Linked DNA regions of Homo sapiens: regions 1 and 2 are each linked to region 3. Evidence: promoter capture Hi-C in human tissues and cell types (Jung and others, 2019). All regions are on one chromosome and are shown on one strand. Each heading gives the region's core, a stretch centred on a gene start or on the middle of the fragment in contact. The rest is flanking DNA. Distances are from core to core; before and after follow the strand shown. Region 1 overlaps DDX46 (DEAD-box helicase 46). Region 2 overlaps DDX46 (DEAD-box helicase 46). Region 3 holds the start of C5orf24 (chromosome 5 open reading frame 24).

Region 1 (3,841 bases), core at 828-3,327, 55 kb before region 3:
TTTGTAGCCTGTAGTCCCAGCTACTTGGGAGGCTGAGGCAGGAGAATAGCTTGAACCCGGGAGGCGGAGCTTGCAGTGAGCCAAGATCGCACCACTGTACTCCAGCCTGGGTGACAGAGTAAGACTCCGTCTCAAAAAAAAAAAATAATAATTGTAACAAGTTGATTATTACAAGCATTAATGATATTTTTGCAATTTAAAATTTTTTTTCAGAAGTAACTCCATCTGATCATAACTTGGATTCTTAATCCAGTTTTGGCCTGGCTTTGCTTAGTAAAAGAGTGGGGTAGTAGCTTTTTCTTTATTACAAAATTTAGACTTTTTCTCCACATGAGCTAGTATTTTCTTAGATACTACATAAATTAAGATATTGCAGCTTCAAGAAATTTTATCTTTTGTAAATATTGCATGTTTGTAGCTCAAATGTTATGCTTTGTTAAATTATTCCCTATCAAAACTCTTACTAAACTGTTGACATTATTTAACTTCTGTGGAGAAAGGCCCTTCAAGATTTATAGAACTGGGCTTCCGAGACTTAAACCATCAAAGGTAGGTAATTTAATGCTGTTCCCGACCTTGCAAAACTAATTGGGGCTACAAATGCTAGTGTGGAATACTTAAATATTAGATAGCACTTATTTTGGCACTTTTTATTTTTTGAAGAAAATGCTCTCAGAGGTTTCCATTGCAATATTTAGTGTGTACATAATAGAGTATTAAAAACTGAGTTAGTGCATGTTTCTAGTAGTATTCTGCTTGAATTTCTAATTCTAATTGTACATGAAGTTGGCAAAGTGACATCGAAATTGAGAAGTCATTGTGCTTGTCTAGCATATGGAAAGTTTTGGTTTGAATGCTGATTAAATAATCCCTTTTTTTTTTTCTCAATGCTGCATTGATTAAGTCTCCTCCTGAAATTCATCTTGATTAATTTTACCTTTTTCTCTTATCTGTCATTGTGGTCTATTTTTAAATAACTATTTTATACGTGTTTTTGCCAGGTGATTGATTCAACAGTTGATAGCAATGCTTCTGTTAATATTTTAGAAGGAATTTCCTATGTATGTATTTTGTTTTCACTGGTTAGGAAGCCAGTTGCATTTATTTAAGTCAGTGGGTTCACTTAATAAAATTGGGATTTATATCTTTGTATGGAAAATGTATTTATGTAATGTGTTTTGGTATTTAAAGTTTTTGTGTGATACTTTAATTTCCTAATGCTGTCAAATAGCTTCTCATTAAGGGTTTGACATGCCCATTTAAGAAGCTTCTAAATATATGGAAGTAGGTTATAAAATAATATAGAGAGACATTTTCTGTGTCTAAAATAGTTAGCACTAGAACTTGCTTTCCACACATACGCTGTAATCTCTAATATGTTTTTTTCTAGGTGATGCTGTCAGATAATGGCTGATGTGGCTCGATGCTTCATCTCAGTCTTAGTTTTATGATGTGTTTTGGAGAGGGCTGTTTTCTGAATTTTACAGGTTCTTCAGGCCCTATGATGGTATGCAAGAGACGAGTTTGACAAAATAAAGGGCCTCATATACCCATTGTCAGAAAGTATTTGCCACTAGATTAAGACATTGTAGATCAAAATTTCTTTTCACTTTTTAAAGATACCTAACTTACCCCTCTGGTTAAGTCAGGCATTTTAGTTTCCTTTACAGTTTTTAAAAGTTCTTGGTAGCCATAAAATGAATTGTGACTGATTTTTAGTTTTCTTTTTGTCTTTATTTTTCTTTTCATCTTAGGTCGGGTCACAAATCTTCGAAGAGTGACATATGTTGTTTTAGATGAAGCAGACAGAATGTTTGACATGGGTTTTGAACCCCAGGTAATCATTAAATTTCTTAAGTGTTTTGAAATGTAAATATAACTTTGTAGTTGCCATGAGAATGAAATGTTCATGTGGTTTCTGAAATTCACACACACACTTTTCTGTTGCACGGTAATACAGAAGACTGGGGACATACAGTATTGAAGTACATATTTATGTTTCAGATTCCTCACAAAACTTCTTCAGGAGGTATTTATACCGGCATTTCTTAGCCATCTAAGACCAACACCAACAAAGCTAGAATTGGAGTGCTAATAATAGAGCTTAAGCCTTATTTTTTTTTTTCAGATGGAGTCTTGCTCTGTCGCCCAGACTGCAGTGCAGTGGAGAACGATCACTACTCACTGCAACCTCTGCCTCCTGGGTTCAAGCGATTCTCCTGCCTCAGCCTCCCGAGTACCTGGGACTACAGGTGCCCGCCACCACGCCCGGTTAACTTTTTAATAGAGATGGAGTTTCACCACGTTGGCCAGGCTGGTCTCGAACTCCTGACCTCAGGTGATCCACCCGCCTTGGCCTCCCAAAGTGTTGGGATTACAGGCGTGAGCCACTGTGCCCGGCCCATTGTCTTTTTAAATAAATTCTTTTAATTCATGCTTTTAGATACCTCATTATCTAGTCTAGATAGCACGTCATTTACGTTTACCAAAGTCATTCACGTTTGCTAAGATAATGGCCCAAAGAATTTATCTAGCTTAGGTTTTTATGTTCCTTATATATGCTCTTTGCTCAGGTACAAAATTTCAGTGATACACATTTATAGGAACACATTTTAAAGGTGGTAGATGAGGTCAGGAGATCGAGACCATCCTGGCTTTCACGGTGAAACCTCATATCTACTAAAAATACAAAAAAATTAGCCGGGCTTGGTGGCAGGCGCCTGTAGTCCCAGCTACTCAGGAGGCTGAGGCAGGAGAATGGCGTGAACCCGGGCGGCGGAGCTTGCAGTGAGCTGAGATCACGCTGTTGCACTCCAGCCTGGGAGACAGAGCGAGACTCCGTCTCAAAAAAAAAAAAAAGTGGTAGAAGGTTTTCTTAAGAAGATCATTGTGAATTGTCAGTAGGCTGTAGTTGCCAAAAAATGAATAAAAAAGGATTATAAGAGACCATAGTAATGGAAATGTGCATGGAAAAGGGATAAGGCAAATGTCATATTTAGCCTTTTCAGTTTATCCATGTACTCTCCAAAAATTTATTGCCAGTTATATGTTAGTGCATGTATTGTATTTAGATTTAGGGACTGCATTCTAAATGAGATGTAAATAGAGGAACACAGAGGAAGCAGGATTATGGTAATGCTTGAACCATATGCGAAACAGTTAAAATGATATTTAGCTTTGGGCAGGGAATGGTGGCTCATGCCTTTAATCCCAGCAATTTGGGAGGCCGAGGCAGGCAGATCACTTGAAGTCAGGAGATCAGCCTAGCCTGGCCAACATCGTGAAACCCCGTTTCTACTAAAAATACAAAAATTAGCTGGACATGGTGACGGGCGCCTGTAATCCCAGCTACTTGGGAGGCTGAGTCAGGAGGATCACTTGAACCTGGGAGGCACAGGGTGTAGGGAGCCGAGATCGCATTACTGTACTTAAGCCTGGGTGATAGAACGAGACTTAGTCTCAAAAAATAATAATATAATAATAATAATAGTAATAATAATCAGCTTTGAGTAGAAGATAAGATAGCATCCTTTAACTCTGAACAAGTGTCACATGAAAGCAGCATTGAATTTATTTTTTTCATCCCAAGGAGTACAAATGGGATCCAGTGGGGAAGTCATATGGAGCTTGATCTGAGTTTAGTTTGAGGAAGGACTGAATAAACATTATTTGGAGAGGAAACATTGCTTCGTGAGGGAGCGGGGGCGGATATACTGAATATCTGTTTCTTCCAGGTGTTCAAGCAGAGTCAAGGGGTCTGTTTGTTGTGGTAAGAGAGTAAAGAGAATTGAAGTGTCAGATGGAACACAGTCACATGCCCTTTAATGTCTTTCCCAATCAT
Region 2 (3,961 bases), core at 453-2,952, 38 kb before region 3:
ACCAAGCACAATTCACTCTTTGAGACTGGGATTAGGCCCGTCTCTCATTTGATGTATACCTGACTATGTGTTGGGTTGGTATGTGAACAAAATTGGGGTTATTTTAAAAAGGAAGGGGGTTCATGGTTTTTGGGTTGACATCCCATATGCTGCTTCAGTTAGCATATTATATTCAATTCTAAGGAATCAATTTTATGTGATTATGTTAGTAAGGATACTTTAGGCTAAAGTAAAAGTTTTGGTATTTTCAAATTATAAACAAATTTATATTGATATTGATTTCATTAAATTTTCTTAGGCAATTTTTTTGGTGAAGTGTTAGATTCCAGTTTCTTTGACAATGATTCAAATACTTCCTTTAAATCAATCCTTGAAGAGTACCTTTAAAATTTTAGGTAGTACTAAGAATTAATATTGGTAATTATTTACGTGCTAAACAGTGTATGTTAAACCCAGATTTTCTGTGAAATCTTCCATTGAAAGCATGAGTTTTAAGTTTTGAGAGTTTATCTTATTCCCTTCTCTATTACCAGAGTTTCCTGGGAACCTCATCATAAAATATTTTGTGGTCTGGGCATGTCGTAATAGAACTTTATGGTATTTTATACTCTGCTTTGCCATTCATACTAAACCTCTTTGGATCATTTATTTAAGAGATATCCATTTGGGTACTTCTAAACCAGTATTCCTAAAACTTTAATTTGCATATGATAATCACCTAAGGTTTTTTAAAATGCAGATTTTGATTCGGTAGTTTGGAGTATAACCCTAGATTCTGCATTTCCTTTTTTTTTTTTTTCCCCGAGACAGAGTCATGCTCTGTCGCCTGGGCTGGAGTGCAGTGGCGCAATCTCGGCTCACGGCAACCTTTGCCTCCCAGGTTCAGGCATGTGCCACCACGCCTGGCTTTTTTTTTTTTTTTTTTGTATTTTTAGTAGAGACGGGGTTTCACCATGTTGGTCAGGCTGGTCTCGAACTCCTGACCTCATGATCTGCCCGCCTCGGCCTCTCAAAGTGCTGGGATTACAGGCATGAGCCACCGCACCTGGCCTAGATTCTGCATTTCTAACAAGCTCCCAGGTGATGCTGCTCTGGTCCTTGGACAAAACCGAGTAGCAAGGCTCTAAATAACCTACAGGGAAAGGAGAAAGATCTAACTCTTGTCAATATAGGCTGAATGTTTCTGCCTTTTCTCGCTTTGGCTCCCAAACAGGTTTAGATTAATTTCTGATATTGGACCTTTGCAAATATAAACCTTATATAGAAGAAAGGGGGCAATACAAGACCAGAGTTGAAAGATTCATAAATGAGTTAATAGCAATAACCTTTAATCTTGCCATTACATTTTCTTAGTCTTTTATTTTCTATATTTTAGGAGTTGGATGTGTCAATTTGTTCTTCACTGAGTTTAGATTCTTGGTCAGAAGACATGGAAAATTTAATTTGAACATGTTTTAAAGCTCTCTAATTTACTTGCAGGCATTGATCAATATGACAGAGATAGCATCATAAATGACTTTAAGAATGGGACCTGCAAACTTCTTGTGGCTACCTCTGTTGCTGCCCGAGGTCTAGATGTGAAACATCTGATTCTTGTAGTAAATTATAGCTGCCCCAACCATTATGAGGATTATGTACACAGAGCAGGGCGGACTGGAAGAGCAGGAAACAAGGTAAAAATAAGTTTTTTATAGTTGATCTTCATTATATTAAAATACAGGTGTTTCTTTAGTATTTCAAGGAGTAGATAATAGGAGTTATGGAGACATTTTGAAAATCTTTAATCCACATAATGTGAAGAGTGGTTGATGTTAATAATTTATATACATGTACAGGTCTAAGTGTTGTTCAAATTATCAGATACCTAGCTGCTCTTTGTAGGCAGATCCTGTTAACAGTTTGTCTTCCCTTTTAGGTTTTTCCCCTCATGCCTAAACGTTTCTATACAGATGTTCCTTGATTTATGATGGGGTTACAATGTCCCGATAAACCCATCGTAAGTTGAAAATGCATTTAATATACCTGACGTACTAAACATCATAGTAGCCTAGCCTACCTTTAGCATGCTCAGAACACTTACATTAGGTTATACTTGGGCATCATCATCTAACACAAAGCCTATTTTATAATAAAGTATTGAATATCTCATGTAATTTACTGAATACTGTACTGGAAGTGAAAAACTGGTTGTATAGGTACTCAAAGTACAATTTCTACTGAATGCATATCACTTTTGCACCATGGTAAAGTTGAAAAATTATAAATTGAATCATTGTAAGTCGGGGACCATCTGTATACACATACACATAAATGTTTATACTTCAGGATCTTTTTTTAAAAAAAAACATGGGATCATAAAATATACCCATCTCCACACCTACCAATTTCTCCTACTCCCCTCTTTACCTCCCTATCATTCATACATACATATGTTACTTGCTTTTTTGACTCACCTGTATTCTAGAAACTGTATGGGTCTAACTCATTCCTTCTAGAGGCAGCAGACTAGTCTGTTGTTGGAGACATTGATTATGATATATTTAATTTTCTAACCCTGTACATTGCATAATAAAGCAATAAGTAGTATTTATATGCCATAGCTTACATTAATGGATAACGTATTATCTGCCATATATAATGTCATTTTAACTGTTTTACATATATAATGTTATTTTATCCTTACATATATAATGTCATTTTATCCTTAAAACGATTTAAGTGTTTTACATATGTAATGTCATTTTATCCTTAAAACTTTCCTTTGAGGTAAATAATATTACTCTATTTTATAGATGAGAAAAATTCATGCACATAGGATTTAGCTCACCTGCTTATGCACATTTAATAAGTAGTAATGGCATTTATTCTTCTAACCTGTTGGAAGGAGTCAAGAATATTTTTTTGGAAAGGGCCATGTACTGAAAATTGTAGCCTATTTGGGCTCTGTCACATATTCTTCTCTTTCTCTCTCCTTCTCTGTATATATATGTGTTATTGTATATATGTTCATAACCCTATAAAAATGTAAATACTTGTAGCCCCGTAGGAGTACAAAAGCAGACCATGGGTCAAAGGCAGTGGCTATTTAGATATTTCTGTTTTTGTTTTTGTTTTTTTGAGATGGAGTCTCGCTCTGTTGCCCAGACTGGAGTGCAGTGGCATGATCTTGGCTCACTGCAACCTCTCCCTCCCAGGTTCAAACGATTCTCCTGCCTCAGTGTCCCAAGTAGCTGGGACTACAGGCGTGTGCCACCACGCCTGGCTAATTTTTTGTATTTTTAGTAGAGACGGGGTTTCTACTAAAACCTGTGTTAGCCAGGATGGTCTCGATCTCCTGACCTCGTGATCTGCCCGCCTTGGCCTCTCAAAATACTGGGATTACAGGCATGAGCCACTGCACCCGGCCAAGATATTTCTGAATTAAAATCTTAAACCATGTTTTAAAATTCGTAACAGTTGGCCGGGCGCGGTGGCTCACGCCTGTAATCCCAGCACTTTGGGAGGCCGAGGCGGGCGGATCACCTGAGGTTGGGAGTTCAAGACCAGCCTGACCAACATGGAGAAACCCTGTTTCTACTAAAATAAAAATAAAAAATTAGCCGGGCATGGTGGCATATGCCTGTAATCCGAGCTACTCGGGAGGCTGAGGCAGGAGAATAGCTTGAACCCGGGAGGCAGAGGTTGCGATGAACCAAGATTGTGCCATTGCACTCCAGCCTGGGCAGCAGGAGCAAAACTCTTGTCTCAGAAACAAACAAACAAAAAATCGCAACAGTTGACTGTTTGGGTCAGATTGTTTTTTTGGTTTTGTTTTTTACATTTTTGTGGAGATGTGGTCTTGCCATTTTTGCCCAGGCTGGCCTCCAACTCCTAGGCTCAAGCTATCTTTCCACCTCTGCCTCCCCAAGTGCTGGGATTACAGGTGTGAGCCATTGTACCCAGCAAGGTCAGATTGTTTTGT
Region 3 (3,523 bases), core at 151-2,650:
CTCCTGGCCTCCTGCTTTGGCCTCCCAAAGTCCTGGGATTACAGGTGTGAATCACTCCACCTAGTTGGAATGATGTTTAGAATCATGTTATGAATCTCCGTCTGCCAAAAAAATCCTAGCTTCCCAACCAGGGAATTCCACCTGAGCTTTGTGTCCAGAGTTTTTTGTTGTTGTTGTTGTTTGTTTGTTTGAGACGGAGTCTCGTTCTGTCCCAGGCTGGAGTGCAGTGGTGCGATCTCGGCTCACAGCAACCTCCACCTCCTGGGTTCAAGCGATCCTCCTGCCTCAGCCTTCCGAGTAGCTGGGATTACAGGTGCGCACCACCATGCCCAACTAATTTTCGTATTTTTAGTAGAGAAGGGGTTTCACCATGTTAGTCAGGCTTGTTTCGAACTCCTGACCTCGTGATCTGCCCGCCTCGGCCTCCCAAAGTGCTGGGATTACAGGCGTGAGCCACCGCACCCAGGCTGTCCAGAGTTTTTATTGGTGTAGGTTTGATCAACTGTTCACATGGCTTATCTGTCTCCAGTCCCTCAGTAGTTTGAATGAATGGGCTTGCTTGTTTCGTGTGTTGTGTCCTGGCTTGTGTGTTTGTCCAGAAAAGTTGTTTCTCCTCCTTTCTTTCCTACTGGCAGGGCAGTACCTGGCTCAGGGCTGTGCTTATGGTAGAACTCAGTTCTATGAATTGTCCATCCTCAAATATCCTTCATTACATGGGGGAAAAGGGCAAGCATCCTCCTCTAGCCTCTTCCCACTGCTTAATAAAGTGTCTCCCTTTCAGTAGCTGCCCTAATTCTGGATCCTCTCCATTCTGACATCTGGAAATTCACAGGAGGAAGGAGTGAGGAAATGAATCCCTTCTAAGTGGGTTTGTGTGAGGTGACTGATATGTCAGATATCTCACAAGAAAAACATAATAGCGGTAGTTTGTTGTTCCATCCTTTCCTGTGATTATGGAATAATGAATGCGACAATTCCTGGGGCGTGGTGGCTTACGCCTGTAATCTGCGTGGATCATAGGATGTCCCATAAAATAAAGCTTTTCATTATCACATGATCCTGGGCATGAAGAGTCCCAACTCCCCTGACTATCATTTATTTGTCCTGTATCTAAGAAATGGGGTCAGCAGGAGTTCCAGCATCTCAGAATTGTGGTGAAAACCAATACAAGTAAGGAAGTTATTAATTCCCCATTTGGTGGGTTCCTCAACCCCAGCCACTGGGGACGGTCCACGCCGGATCACCAGCAGCTCAGGCTTAAGGCCACGACGCGCAAGCGCAGCCTGCCAGCCTGGCTCCCTCCCAAAGCTTGCGTGCAGGTTGGCGGCGGGAGATCGGGTCTCGCGATGCGAGTGAGCGTGTGCGTGCGCGGCCCTCGCGAGCTCGCGCACGCCGCCTCTAACACTACAGGGTGGTAGCGGCCTCTTCGTACTGCGTCCGGGGCAGGACCGTGCGCGGCGGCCGCGGCGGGTGCTGGGAGCCAGCGCCTGCCTCGCCGCCGCCCTCGCTGCCTGCCACTCCGTCTTGGCCCGTTCTCCGCACCGTGCAGAGGCGGCGGGCTGGGGAGGGAGCGGCGCCAGCACGAGGTTCCCAGCCGCTGGGAAGCCCCTAGACGCGCCGAGGGGCCGGGCTACGAGCGGCTGAGGTAGGTAGGGGTGCGCGGGCTGGTCAGCCGGCCGGGAGCGGGGTAGGGCGGCGGCGAGAACGGGCGCCTCGCTGACCGGGGAGAAGAGGCCTCCTGCCAAGGGGCCCTAGTGTAGCCGGAGTGAGAGGAGGGGCCCCGGACGTAGCCTGCTCTTCCCCGGTGTGGAGCCATTACGGGGGGACATTCCTCCTGCGGCGGGGGGAGGGAGCCCCCTTTCTTTTCTTTGAGAGGTCAGAATCCGCAGTCCGCCCTTCGCCTTTAAATAAAAGCCTGCCGGCTCGAGATCGGCGTCGCGATGGAGTGCCCGTGGACTTCTACGCTTGCGGAACTCCGAGTGGACGGATAGCGGCTTATGAATTTTGCTTTTTAGAGGGTACACAACCCTTTCTCTAGGGTGGCGTGCATCTTCTGCAAACTTGTTATTGCCAATACGCTAATAGTCGCTTTCAGCACACAACAGGTAATACATTCTAAACGCCTCGTGTCAAAATAAGGAGAGTCCTTATTTGTGCACCGTGGGGCACAGTTAAGGAGCAGGAAGAAGACAAAGGAGGCCGTTATTTATGTGCCGTCCTATTATCAAAACTTTCCGTGGTGGGGCAGGGTGCGTGGCTATTGGCCTCTGCTGAATGGACTTTCAGAGTGATTGAGGTGAGTTGCAAATCTTCATTTAGAATTATGAAACGTATATGATTATACATAATAGTTAGTCAAATGACCTGAAATAAATCTCTGAGAATTACGTGATCTTTGATCTTTGGAGAACAGAACTTGGGTTTCTTGAAAGGAAGCTTTCTCCATGTTTAGAAAGCTTCAGGGATGCTTTGTGAAGTTACTAAAAATAGTTACATTTCTTTATGTTGGCAGTAATGACTGCCACATTCAAGAGAAGAGAAAGGAATTGTTCTATAAAGAACGGCTCATTTTAGGGGTTAAACTTTAGGAGTTAAACACAATAAAACAACTTCAAGGATGGTAAGTTTTAGCTTATGCTTTAAGTATTCGAATTTAGTCACAGTCCAAATATATAGAAGCTCTTAGTTGACTCCTGTACATTCAGGGAACTATTTATTGGTTGTTTTTGTTTGTTTTGTTTTTTTTGAAACGGAGTCTCACTCTGTCCCCCAGGCTGGAGTACAGTGGCGCGATCGCGGCTCACTGCAACCTCTGCCTCCCGGGTTCAAGCAATTCTCCTGCCTCAGCCTCCCAAGTAGCTGGGATTATAGGCATGCGCCACCACACCCAGCTAATTTTTGTATTTTTAGTAAAGATGGTGTTTAACCATGTTGACCAGGCTGGTCTCGAACTGCTGACCTCGTGATCCACCCTTCTCAACCTCCCAAAGTGCTGGGATTACAGGCGTGAGCCACTGCACCCGGCTTCAGTAACTATTTAAAAAGATGATCTTTAACCTTTGATAGTCTACACAACCTGTTCTATAACTCTTGGCTTCTATTCAGTCCACGCTGTCTGGAAATGTAGTATTCATCCTATTTTTTTTTTTTTTTTCCTGAGATGGAGTCTGTTTCCTAGGCTGGAGTACAGTGGCACGAACTCGGCTCACTGCAACCTCCGCCTTTGGGTTCAAGCGATTCTCCTGCCTCAGCCTCTGGAGTAGCTGGAGTTACAGGCACCCGCCACCATGCCTGACTAATTTTTTGGATTTTTAGAGAGAGGGTTTCGCTGTGTTATCCAGGCCAGGCTACTCTGGAACTCCCGACCTCAACTGATCTGCCCACCTGGGCTTCCAAAATTTCTGGGATTACAGGCCTGAGCCACCGCGCCGGACCATTCTGACTCTTAAGAAATGTGGCTTGGGACCGGTCGCGGTGGCTGTGGCCTGTAATCCCAGCACTTAGGGAGGCCAAGGCAGGCGGA

What was found. The method cuts DNA at HindIII sites, captures the fragments that hold promoters and counts their contacts. A contact is called where the count stands out against the background at its distance.
Region 1: a contact is called between a fragment that was not itself captured here and the fragment with the promoter of C5orf24 in region 3, in 1 of the 25 tissues and cell types used here (lymphoblastoid cells).
Region 2: a fragment that was not itself captured here is called in contact with the fragment with the promoter of C5orf24 in region 3 in 1 of the 25 tissues and cell types used here (thymus).

What each region holds. Positions count from the first base shown.
Region 1 is chr5:134,788,716-134,792,556 of GRCh38, forward strand. It overlaps DDX46 (DEAD-box helicase 46), which reads left to right. Exons shown (of 23, transcript NM_001300860.2): 13 at 1,755-1,837. Among named protein-coding and RNA genes, the nearest start is that of DDX46, 32 kb to the left of the region's middle. The HindIII fragment of the contact is 3,195 bases long and covers 481-3,675 here.
Region 2 is chr5:134,806,269-134,810,229 of GRCh38, forward strand. DDX46 (DEAD-box helicase 46) reads left to right here. Exons shown (of 23, transcript NM_001300860.2): 16 at 1,480-1,673. Among named protein-coding and RNA genes, the nearest start is that of C5orf24, 38 kb to the right of the region's middle. The HindIII fragment of the contact is 9,378 bases long and covers 1-3,961 here.
Region 3 is chr5:134,844,568-134,848,090 of GRCh38, forward strand. It overlaps C5orf24 (chromosome 5 open reading frame 24), which reads left to right and starts at 1,401. Exons shown (of 2, transcript NM_001135586.1): 1 at 1,401-1,645. RefSeq lists an enhancer at 1,112-1,847 and silencers at 1,367-1,746, 1,777-1,826. The HindIII fragment of the contact is 2,814 bases long and covers 1-1,872 here.